Regions from separate parts of the Homo sapiens genome. Here regions 2 and 3 are each linked to region 1. Evidence: promoter capture Hi-C in 16 types of primary human blood cells and fetal thymus (Javierre and others, 2016). All regions are on one chromosome and are shown on one strand. The core of a region is centred on a gene start or on the middle of the fragment in contact, and the rest is flanking DNA. Distances in the headings are between cores, read along the strand shown.

Evidence for each region. Contacts are between HindIII fragments. The CHiCAGO score rates a contact against its expected background, and 5 or more counts as called.
Region 2: the fragment with the promoter of PEF1 here is called in contact with a fragment that was not itself captured in region 1 in 1 of 17 cell types (non-activated CD4 T cells); the score reaches 5.4 in non-activated CD4 T cells.
Region 3: the fragment with the promoter of SNRNP40 here is called in contact with a fragment that was not itself captured in region 1 in 2 of 17 cell types (activated CD4 T cells and total B cells); the score reaches 5.4 in activated CD4 T cells.

What each region holds. Positions count from the first base shown.
Region 1 is chr1:29,229,680-29,233,261 of GRCh38, reverse strand. It overlaps MECR (mitochondrial trans-2-enoyl-CoA reductase), which reads left to right and starts at 2,328. Exons shown (of 10, transcript NM_016011.5): 1 at 2,328-2,531. The coding sequence starts at 2,356. RefSeq lists enhancers at 2,317-2,426, 1,951-2,451, 2,452-2,952. The HindIII fragment of the contact is 752 bases long and covers 1,187-1,938 here.
Region 2 is chr1:31,643,039-31,646,620 of GRCh38, reverse strand. It overlaps PEF1 (penta-EF-hand domain containing 1), which reads left to right and starts at 1,745. Exons shown (of 5, transcript NM_012392.4): 1 at 1,745-1,780. The coding sequence starts at 1,757. PEF1-AS1 (PEF1 and COL16A1 antisense RNA 1) reads right to left here and starts at 2,485. Exons shown (of 6, transcript NR_184313.1): 1 at 2,325-2,485; 2 at 1,775-1,909. RefSeq lists enhancers at 1,276-1,615, 1,856-1,925, 1,245-2,015. The HindIII fragment of the contact is 8,144 bases long and covers 1-3,582 here.
Region 3 is chr1:31,295,032-31,298,613 of GRCh38, reverse strand. SNRNP40 (small nuclear ribonucleoprotein U5 subunit 40) reads left to right here and starts at 1,826. Exons shown (of 10, transcript NM_004814.3): 1 at 1,826-2,003. The coding sequence starts at 1,863. ZCCHC17 (zinc finger CCHC-type containing 17) reads right to left here and starts at 1,582. Exons shown (of 8, transcript NM_016505.4): 1 at 1,539-1,582. RefSeq lists an enhancer at 1,848-2,057. The HindIII fragment of the contact is 7,877 bases long and covers 1-3,582 here.

The DNA.
Region 1 (3,582 bases), core at 313-2,812:
AATTCAATTACCTGCAACTCATGGAATATTTATGACACCTACCCTGTGCCAGGCTCATATCGGGTGCTGGTGTTATGGAGATAAACCAAACATGGCTCCAGTCTTGCCTGGAGGGGAATAAATAAGAGACGATGTACTAAAGGCCATAACACAGCTCCAGGGAAAACACAAAGGCAGCAGCAGATGACCTAGGGAGTTTTGAAACATCAAAGAAATGACATCTGAACCTGGAGTTTCCGAGGCAGGGAACAGCATTTCAGGCAGAAGGAGTGGCCTGAATAAAGGCACAAGACACACTGGGGAAGACGGGTATCAGATGCAGCTGGATCACAGGCTATGCACGGTCCAACAGGAGAAGATGAAGCTGGAAATGCAGTGTGGGAGTCAGAGTGCAAAGAATCTTGAATGCAAGTCCAGGAAATTGGACTTGAACCCCTCAGTCAGTAGTTCTCAAACTATGCCCCTGCAAGAACCCAGATGGCCTAGACTAAAAGTGAGGGCTATTGGGATGCACAGGAGGCTAAAGTCCAGCCCCAAGGAGGAGGACTTGCTGGATGATTCTTCAGGCTTCCTGACTGGGCTCCCCAGAAATTCAGAGGAGCCAATTTGGTGAAGAAGAGAATGTCGACATCTCAATGTCACCTAGGGAGTCTTACAACAGAAGGTTACGTTGTACTTCCCAGTTCAAGTAAGCCTATGTGTCACTGGGGAAAAGGGTAAGCAGGACTGGTCATCGTGTGTGTGCTGGCACATAAATGTGGGGCCAAGCCTTTCCCCCACCATGGGACACCAACTTTCTCTAATAATAAAAACAAGTACAGACATTTAGTGAGCACATACTATAAGCCAGACCCTAGTCTGAGGGTTTTATGTGTGATATTTCTCATTTAATCACAATAACCCCCGATAATATTTATCAAATGCTTCCATGTGCCAAGCATTGTACTAAATGCTTCAAGTGGATAATATCTCACTTGACCCTCACAACAATCTTGAAACAGATAACTAGTATTCCTTCCATTTTAAGAGTAAGAAAGTGAAGACACAGAGAGGCCTGGTGACTTGTCCGAAATCAAATGGCTGGAAAATGGCAGAGCTAGGACATAAAGCCAGGTTTGTCCAAATCTAGCTCACAGTACTTTGCTGTGCTCTCTTCCTCAGAGGAAAGGCTTGGAGATGGCAAGCTTCAAGTCAATAAAATCCAGGAAAGGAACTCTTCCTTATCCTTCAAAGCCCTGGCTCAGTATCTTAAAACCTGTTTCCTGGGACACCTGCATCAGAATATTCTTGGGAGCTTGTAAGGATGTAGATTCCTGGAACCCCCATCCGCAAGATTCTAATTCAGTAGGTCTAAGATGGGACCTCGGATTATTTTTATGCACACAGAAGATTTTGAATCACAGGGCTGGCTCTAACAGCACCTCCTCCAAGAGCCCCCACCCCATCCCACCCCATCCCAGAGCACTTCTCTTCAGACTACAGCATTGCACTCTGGCACGAGCCACAGCTCGATCTGGGGTTTTAGTAATGTTCATGTCTTCCCTACACCAAAAATCAGACTAGATCCTTCATAGGGCTACACCTTTTTACAGGCATTTCCAGTGTTCCACTTAATCCCTTTCTACACTGTGAGCATTTTGAGAGAGGACCCTTCTCCTTGTGATTCCTGTCTTACATCTGAACAGAGTTTTTTACAATGCGTTCTCCCACCCACAATAGCATTCCTCTATTATTTCATCCAATCCTCACAACAATCCGGAAGGAGGCATATTATCCCCATTGTACCGATGAGAAAAATTCAGAGTTTCACCTGCCCAAGGTGGCCAAGCTAGGAAGTGGCAGGGCTAGGATTTGAACCTAAGTTTTCTAACTCCAAGCCCCATACTCCTGCCTCCACAGCAGCTTTCGTGTACTCTCCTCAGTGTAGGGAAGTAAGCTTTGCCTCCCTATGCCGTTACATGGTAGTGGTGATTAAATGAGATAATACCTTAAAGAGCCTGGCTCGGTGAGCACTCAATATATTATGTGAAGGGTAAACTGAGGCCAGGGAGAGTAAATATTTCCTCCAAATCAAACACCAAACTGCAGGCTGTAGACACGACTTTGGACTAGCCCCAGACTCTCCTTGTTGAGACAACAGCTTTGGCGGCCTCGCAAGCTCCGCACCCCCGGATCCCTCCGGGGCCCACACGCAGTCTAGCCAGGCGCCACCACTTGGGCAGCGAAGGAAGGAAACGCCCTTCAAAGGGACCAAGGGGGAGTGGTCACCCGGCGGGGCAGGGGCGGGGCGCAGGCGCGCGGTCGCTGGAAGATGACGTAGCCGGGGCGTCAGGCTCTGTGTTGGTTGGAGCGAGCATGTGGGTCTGCAGTACCCTGTGGCGGGTGCGAACCCCCGCCCGGCAGTGGCGGGGGCTGCTCCCAGCTTCTGGCTGTCACGGACCTGCCGCCTCCTCCTACTCCGCATCCGCCGAGCCTGCCCGGGTCCGGGCGCTTGTCTATGGGCACCACGGGGATCCAGCCAAGGTCGTCGAGTAAGAGACGGCGCCGAAGCCGGGGAAGGGGACTGGGGTTTCTGGAAGGCTTTAACACGAGCTGCGGACTGGGAAGAGAGGGACAGGGTCCGAGGAAGGGGGCAGAGAATAGCAAACCGAAGCCGAAGCCCAGGGCGTTTTTGGTAGGTCAGAAAGACCGTACTTGAAGGTAGCTGAAGACCCGAGAGGCAATTATCAGGGTATTAATGGCTGATGTTTATTGATCGAATATTGTGTCAGGCAATCCCTTGTTTAAATGGATGCTCTCATTTAATTGTCACAACAATGTTTTGGGGTAGTTATTGATTTATCCCCATTTTGCAGATGAAAACTGAGGCAGAAGAGGTAAAATCACTCGTCCAAGGTCACACAGCCAGTAAGTGACAGGGTCAGAATTCCAACCTATGTCTGACTGACCTGCGTGAGTTCTTACTATTATTATTATTATTTGGAAGAAGTTTTCAGAATACTTTTACATCCATTTGGATCTTCATGTGTCAGTAAAGAGTAGGTCATAGATCATTGTTTCCAGAGGGCAAGGGACTTGCCCAGAGTGATACCGCTAATAAGTGATTGGAACAGGAGACTGGAATCCATGGCTTCTGATTCCAAACTCATGTTTCTCTCCACTGCACCGTATATGCATCTTGGCTTGGTTAAAAAGAGCTGCTTTGGTGCCATACAGACCCAAGTATCTATATTTGGTCAAATACAGGCTCAACGTCTTAGTAGCTGTTTGGTCTTAGAGAAGTCATTCAACTTCTCGTTACTTTTATGACTTTGTCCTCCTCCTAAAATTCTGTTGGATCTTAATTCATGCTTTTTGCACGTGGTTGATAAAAATAGTATGTCAGTTGCCAACCATTGTAAATCTGCACATAAATAGCCATTCAGAAGGGCTATTGGGGCCACTGAAGTGGAGCTAAAGCAAAAGCACAGGTCTGGGAATCAAAATACTTGGGGTCAAATCCTTGTCCTAGCTTTGCATTTGGCAAGTTACTGAGGTTCTCTGAGCCTCGGTTTCATCATCTTAAAAAATGGAGACAGTACA
Region 2 (3,582 bases), core at 496-2,995, 2.4 Mb before region 1:
CAGGTATAATAAGCTCATTTTCAAATTTACACATTTGTTCCTGTCAGCTAAGAAAAGTGAAATTTAGAGAGGTTAAATAACTTGCCTAAATAAAATGTGGTAGATATACACTGTGGAATACTATGCAGCCATAAAAAAGGAACAAGATCATGTCCTTTGCAGGGACGTGGATGGAATTGGAAGCCATTATCCTCAGCAAACTAACAGAGAAACAGAAAACCAAACACCGCATGTTACCACTTATAAGTGGGAGCTGAATGAGGAGAGCACATACACCACTGGGGTCTGTCGGAGCGTAGAGGGAGGTGGGAAGAGGGAGAGCATCAGGAAGAATAGCTAATGGATGCTGGGCTTAACACTTGGGTGATGGGATGATGTGTGCGACAAACCACCATGGCACACATTTACCTATGTAACAAACCACATCCTGCTCATATACCCCTGATCTTAAAAGTTGGAAATTAAAAACAAACAAACAAAAAACCTGCCTAAGGTGATACAGTTAGAAAGTGATAAAACAAAGATCCTCCCTCCAAAGCAGAAGTGCTGAATGGTGGAACTGAGCACAGAAATACAGAGTAGCAGAAGGGGCCGTAAGATTGGAAAGTTGAGGCTGGGCCAGATTCTGAAGGGCCTGGAGTACCAGAATGAAGAGATTGGGCCTTATTTTGTAGGCGTGGATGAAGAGCATCCATTGTAGGCTGTGTAGTGGGCAAGTGGCATGATCAGCACTGTGATTTTGGAAAGTGCACTTGGTTAGATAGATGGACTAGACTGGATAACAGTTCGTAACATTCATTTATTCATTTATTTTAATAATCGTGTCAGTCGCTATACTAGGTACTGGAGTTATAATGACAAGCAAAAACAGACAAAACCCTAGCCCACATGAAAGAACTTGACAAAGAAATCAAATAAGCACACAAATAAGTGTAGAAACGGAACCACTGAGTGGCAAGTACATGGTGCTGAGATCACTCGGTCACCAGGATTTGACCTACGATGGGGACCGACCTAGACCTCCCTGCTGAGAACTGGACATCCATTGACCCCGGTTCTAGGCGACCCACTGTGAGCTAGGGCAAGGCAACTGCCTCTCTGCACCTCAGTTTCCCCATTTATGAAGAAAGAGGCACTAGATAATTCAATTTTCCTCCAACTCTAATGATCTGGGGTTTTTTTCTCCAAAGACCACAGATCTGTATCCCACTACAAGGGTACTAACTGGTACCCAGTACCTTGACATTAGAGGAGTAATTCCGCCATCGCCTCTCCCTACCGGGAAGAGTCGGTCGGTTCCCCGTTGTCAGGGCAACCGCCTGGCCACCGCCCCTCGTCTCCTTTCCCGCGGCTCATCTGCGGAAACTCAGGAGCTACTCCAGCAATTACGTCACTATCATGCGTCCCATTTGCCAGGTTATAACATGGCTACCGCAGCAACACCCCACCCAGGCTTCTCACTAAATTTCCCAACCTGACCACCTCTTCGGCCCACTCCACCTCAGGAAAAGGAGGAACATTAGCGCTGGTACAGCCGCCAAGACTTCCGGAAGCTCCATCAATCACTTAGCTCCCCTGGTCTCTCGGGTAGGCATCCGCCCACCGCCCCCATCGTCACTTCCGTCGGCCGACAGCACCCAAGATTGACAGGCGCGGACGTCCAATCAGATGCGGGCCCAGCCCCAAAGCCGAGACGAGGGGCGGGTTTGAGAGCGGAAAGCCCCACCCCTTGCCTGAGTGTGACGTCAGAATCACCATGGCCAGCTATCCTTACCGGCAGGTGAGTGTGTGAGGGGCCCGCGAATCCAGGTAGCGGCGGTGCCAGGCGCAGGCCCGACGTCCCCCTGCTCTTTCTCCCCGCTTTCTCCGCGCCCTTCCCACGATGGGTTCGCTTCAGCGAGGCCTTGCGCTGTAGAGAACCGAAAAGGGACCGTCGGTCGCGCCCTGCTCACGTCATGAAGGACCGCACATTCGCGAGGTCGTGTCGCGCCCCCTTGACGTCGCTCACTCGAGGATTTGGGGACCTTGGACCCCACAGGTCCAGGCTGGCGCTGGCCTGGGCTCCACAGCCTCCCAAGGCCCTCATGGGGGCCTTGGGCGGGGGCATCAGCCATGACCGGAGGTTTAGAGTTCTGGTTCCGCCGATCTCATTTGGGGCGTCGGATAAAAATCCAGGCTTCCGGACCCACCCCACACTGCATCAGAGTCATCAGGAAACTCTGGTTGTAGCAGGCGCCACAAGTGAGCTGGTTTGACCACTGACTTAGTTCAACACCGCCATTTCGCGTGTAGAAAAGTGAACCCCGAGAAGACACAGAACTTACCTGAAGTCACCAGGCAGTTAGGCAGCAGGGCCGAGGTCAGAACCCGGGCTATCTTCAGATGCCTCTTCCCCAGCGTATCTTGATTCAGTCAGGAATACCGCAGCAAGGTGATTCTGTGGCCAGAATTCTTTGTTGGGTGATAGTAGGGTGTTGAAGTGCACTTTGGTGTCAGAGGTAGGTTCATATCTTAGCTCTACCACCTAAATAGTTGTGAGCCCTTGAGCAAGCTGTTTTGCCTTTCTGAGTCCAAGTTTCCGCCTGTAAAATAGGGCCGAATAATAGGATCTGCCTCATAAAGCTGTTGTGGAGAGTCAGGAGGTGATGCTTACGAAGCGTTTGGTACATAGTGAGGTGTAACATGTGTTGCCCTTTAGCATTTTGATTTTTAGTAGACTTCTAAAAGGCCAGTGCCCGGAGGGTCCTCAAAATAGAGCCCTCATTTTACAGAGGAGGAAATGAAGCCCACAGAGGGCTGCGATCACACAGTTATTTAGGAGATGAAATCCATAAACGAAATGTGGGAAAACAAGATCAATTGGTATATTACACAGTGCTCAACTGAGTTTAGTCACAGGCCAAAAGATGTAACAGTCCTTCCAGGGAGTGCAGTCTTGTGCGGGTTACACAGTGTTTGGACCTCCATTATCCTAATCATGAAGTCCCTATCGGCATGCAGGTATTATTACCCCTAATTAACTGCTGAGGAGCAAACCCAAAGAGGTTAAGTGGCTTCCCAAAAGTCACACGTAGTAAGTGAGGGTGAGGCCATGACCAGAGCTTAGGACTTCTCTTATTGCATCCTTAGAGAGAGGTAGGAAAGAGAGAGGCCAGTGCGGGCTGGAGTTAGGAAGTGTAGCATAGCAGTTGCTTCCTAAAGTCCATTCCATTTGCTGAGTCTTGGGAGGTTTTAATAGATATTGTTAATATAGGAGGATTCTGTAGTTAACTAAAGTTTTGGAAATACTCTTAAGTATAGCTGAATAAGTTTATTGACCACAAGCTATTTCAGAATCCTTAATTTGCTAATGTACATTGTAAATCATCCAGAAAGGAATATAATATGCAGTATTTCTTAAACATATCTAACCATAGAAACTCCGCCTCCCGGCTTTCTTTTCAGATGTCTGGTCACTTTTTTGACTCTAGTATTTCTGAGGAACACAGGCTGAAAAAACATTCATAGCGCCTTGTTTCCCAGTGGCTGGTCTTCTGCCTCAGAATCAGCTGAGAGCTTGTTTAAGAAAGCACACTTTTGGGT
Region 3 (3,582 bases), core at 577-3,076, 2.1 Mb before region 1:
CAGGAGTTGGAGACCAGCCTGGCCAATATGGTGGAACCCCATCTCCACCAAAAATACAAAAATTGGCCGGGCACAGTGGAGGCGCCTGTAATCCCAGCTACTGGGGAGGCTAAGGCAGGAGAATTGCTTGAACCTGGGAGGTGGAGGTTGCAGTGAGCCAAGGTTGCACCACCACACTCCAGCCTGGGCGACAGAGCAAGAACCTGTCTCAAAAAAAAAAAAAAAACAAAAAAAAACTGGTCTCTAATCATCTTCTAGTGTTCCCTATCCAGCTTGAGGGATTCCGTGATAGTGAGTGAATGGTACCACCATCTATTCAACTACATAAGCCAGAAACCTAGGAGTTACCTTTGATTCCTCTCTTCACTCCCTAAAATCAACCCATCACCAAGTCCCACCCATTTTACCTCCTATATACCTCTAGAATCTGTCCAATTCTCTGCAGTTCCACCCATATCTCAGTCCTCACTGACATCTCTGACCAGGATTACTGCATATCCCAAGTGGTCCACATACATCGACTAGGGCTTCCCCAACCCCCGTCTGTTCACACCACTGAGCCTGAGGGATCAAGTCCCCTCCTCCACCACACCCCACTGGGGGAAGACGGCTCAGTGGTATCTCATCCGTTTTAAAATAAAAGCTACAAATTCCTGCAAGGTCTGACCGCTATCACGTACAGCTTCATCTTGTACCATACTCCCTTCATTCTCTTTGTACCAGCCACACTGGCTCTTTGTGCTTTTAGTCATTTTCCTCCCAAGTGCCTCAGGGCTCTGAACAAGTAGTTCTCTATGGAAGGTTCTGCCTTCACTTCTTCACCTAATTAATTACAACACTTCCTGCAGCTACCAGCGCAGGCATCTTTTCCTCTGAAAAACCTTCCTGCTTATTTCAGGCACTCATAGCATCAGGCAGCAGTAGGAGGCATTTCCATGTATTAGTGAGGTCATTGTTTAACGTTTTCCCCACCAGAGTTAAACGCCCTGAGAGTAGGGACCGTGCCCGGTTCACAACATACCCCCAACGCGCTGCTAAATGAATATCAGCAGGACGACTGAGGCAATGACCACGTTCATGGGCATGAGTCTCAAATTTCTCAACAAGACTGTGCTCTGGAGAAGGAGTCGGACATTTCCTTCATCACTGTCTCTCTCAGGGGGGCATACAGTAGGCCCTGATCAAAAACTGCAAAATCAGTGGCAGAAACAAGTCAGCCTCCTCGGCCAAATGGGGCACCGGAGGAGGCTGGGACGCAGGCCTTTCTCCCTGGGAATGCCCGGCACAGGACTGGCCACGATGGGCGCTCTTGAAGAAGGGAGCCGCAGGGGCTGGGTCTTGCCGCCAGAGACCCCAAGGCTCCGCTCCTGCCCCGAAAGGGAGCCCAGGCTACTACTTACCACAGCTGGGGACTCGGGGCCCGCCTCCCACCCCTTGCTGTCAGCACCCTCAGCTGAGAAGGGCAGGTTCAGACTGCACAACCGAGGCGTCGCCTCCAGACTCAGGCAGCCACCCACCCCGTTCTTCCTCATACGTACTAGGCGTCAGCTCCAGGTCCCCGAGTCGCTGCGCTGAACTAAACGCCGACCCCAGTCAGCCAGCGCGTTTCCACCCACAAGACCCAGCGCGCCTAGGGCGGTCGCCAGCTCCGTCCACCAATCCTGGTATCGCACTCTCATGACGTCAGAAAGATATGCCCAATAACAAGAGACTATCCGAGGGCGGTGCAAATGGAAATATTGAAAGCCGATTGGTTCTTCCAAGCTGGAAGTTGTGGAGGAAGGACTAATTTGGAACCAATTGCGTGGCGCCTGAGAGCGGCAGCGCGGTCAGTGGCGGCGCTGAAGAGACCGGTTGCCGCCATGATAGAACAGCAGAAGCGTAAGGGCCCAGAGTTGCCGCTGGTTCCAGTCAAGCGGCAGCGGCATGAGTTGCTGTTGGGAGCGGGGTCTGGCCCAGGAGCCGGGCAGCAGCAGGCGACGCCGGGAGCCTTGCTGCAAGCGGTAAGTGAAGAAGCAGGCGGCCTTTGGCCCTCAGCTCATCTTCCTCCCCTCAGAGCGCTGTATCTGGTGATCCCTGACCCTTTCCCGCATTGCGGGGGCAGAACGAGAGTTTCTACGCAGAGTTAAAGCACATAAACACTGTAAAAGCTCCCCATAGCCTGCGAATGCTGCGTACGTGTTCCCCCGTTTGGCGCCCGTTTTCAGCCTCTCGACTGCCCTGAGATAGCATTAGAATTAGAGTTGAGGACCTTGGGCTCAAAACCCTGACCCGGGTTTAAGCATCCTGACTCTAACATGGATCTGGCATAGAACAAAAATTCCGAAGAGTGTGTAGAATGAATGAATGAGGGAGGGAAGAAAAAAGGGAAATGATTTGTGTTGGCTCGTTTTGGGACTTTGGGCAAGTTGCTTTTCCCTTTATTTCTCTGCACTAGTATTATTAACAACTAAATAGCAGCTAACATTCATTGACTCTTGTACTAAAGTGTTTCGTATATGAAATTTCCATTGATCTTGGTAGCAGCCTGTTAGGAACGTTATTAACCCATTTTGCAGATGGAAAAACAGACTTACCAAGTACGTGATAGAAGCAGATTTCGAACTGAGAAACCATGCTCCTAACTACATTTTTTGTAAGATAGAAATAGTGATCACACTTCTAATGTCCTGTTTAGGCTCAGACGAGGAAATACGAGTGTCCTCACATCTCCTCAATAAATCCTGCTGGCACCGTCCTCAAAATAGGTCTAGAATTGCTACTTCTACCATCTCCATCATTGCCTCATGGCCTAAGCCATTATTATCTCATCTGGCATTTTTGTAGTGGGACCCTAACTGGTCTTCCACTTTCTACCTTTGTATCAGCACCTGTTACCAAGCCAATAACCAAAGGAATCCTTCTAAACATCAGATCACATTACACTCTGCAGAAAACTTTCTGGTGGCTTTGTACTTCATCCAGAGTAAAAACCAAAATTCTTGTAATTATTTGCCCTCTTTCCCTTTACCTCTCTGACCAATTTCTTATTGCTCACCTGGCTTCAGTTACTCTCTCTTCCAAGCCTCTGCTTCAGGACCTTTGCATTTGCTGTCCTCTCTGTGGGATTGCTCTTCACAAATGTTTACATGGTTTACTATTCAGCTCCTGCGAATATTTGCCCAAATGTAATTTTTTCAGTGAGGATTTTCCTGACCACCCTATTTTAAATTGCAGTACCACATACTGTGGAACCCACATTGCTTCTCTCTCTCTCTTTTTTTGTTTTTTTGTTTTTAGACAATCTCTCTGTGTTGACCACTGGCTCAGTACAGCCTCCACCACCTGGGCTCAAGTGATCCTCCTGCCTCAGCCTCCTGAGTAGCTGGGACCACAGACACACACCACCACATCTAACTAATTGTATTTTTTTGTAGAGACAGGATTTCACTCCTGAGCTCAAGCAATCCGCACACCTTGGCCTCCCAAAATGCTGAGATTACAGGCATGAGCCACCATCCCCATCCCTTCTTTTGCTCTATAGCACATGACACCACATATATAGTTTGCTTGTTTTCTCTCACCTTCCCTTCTCCCTTCCCC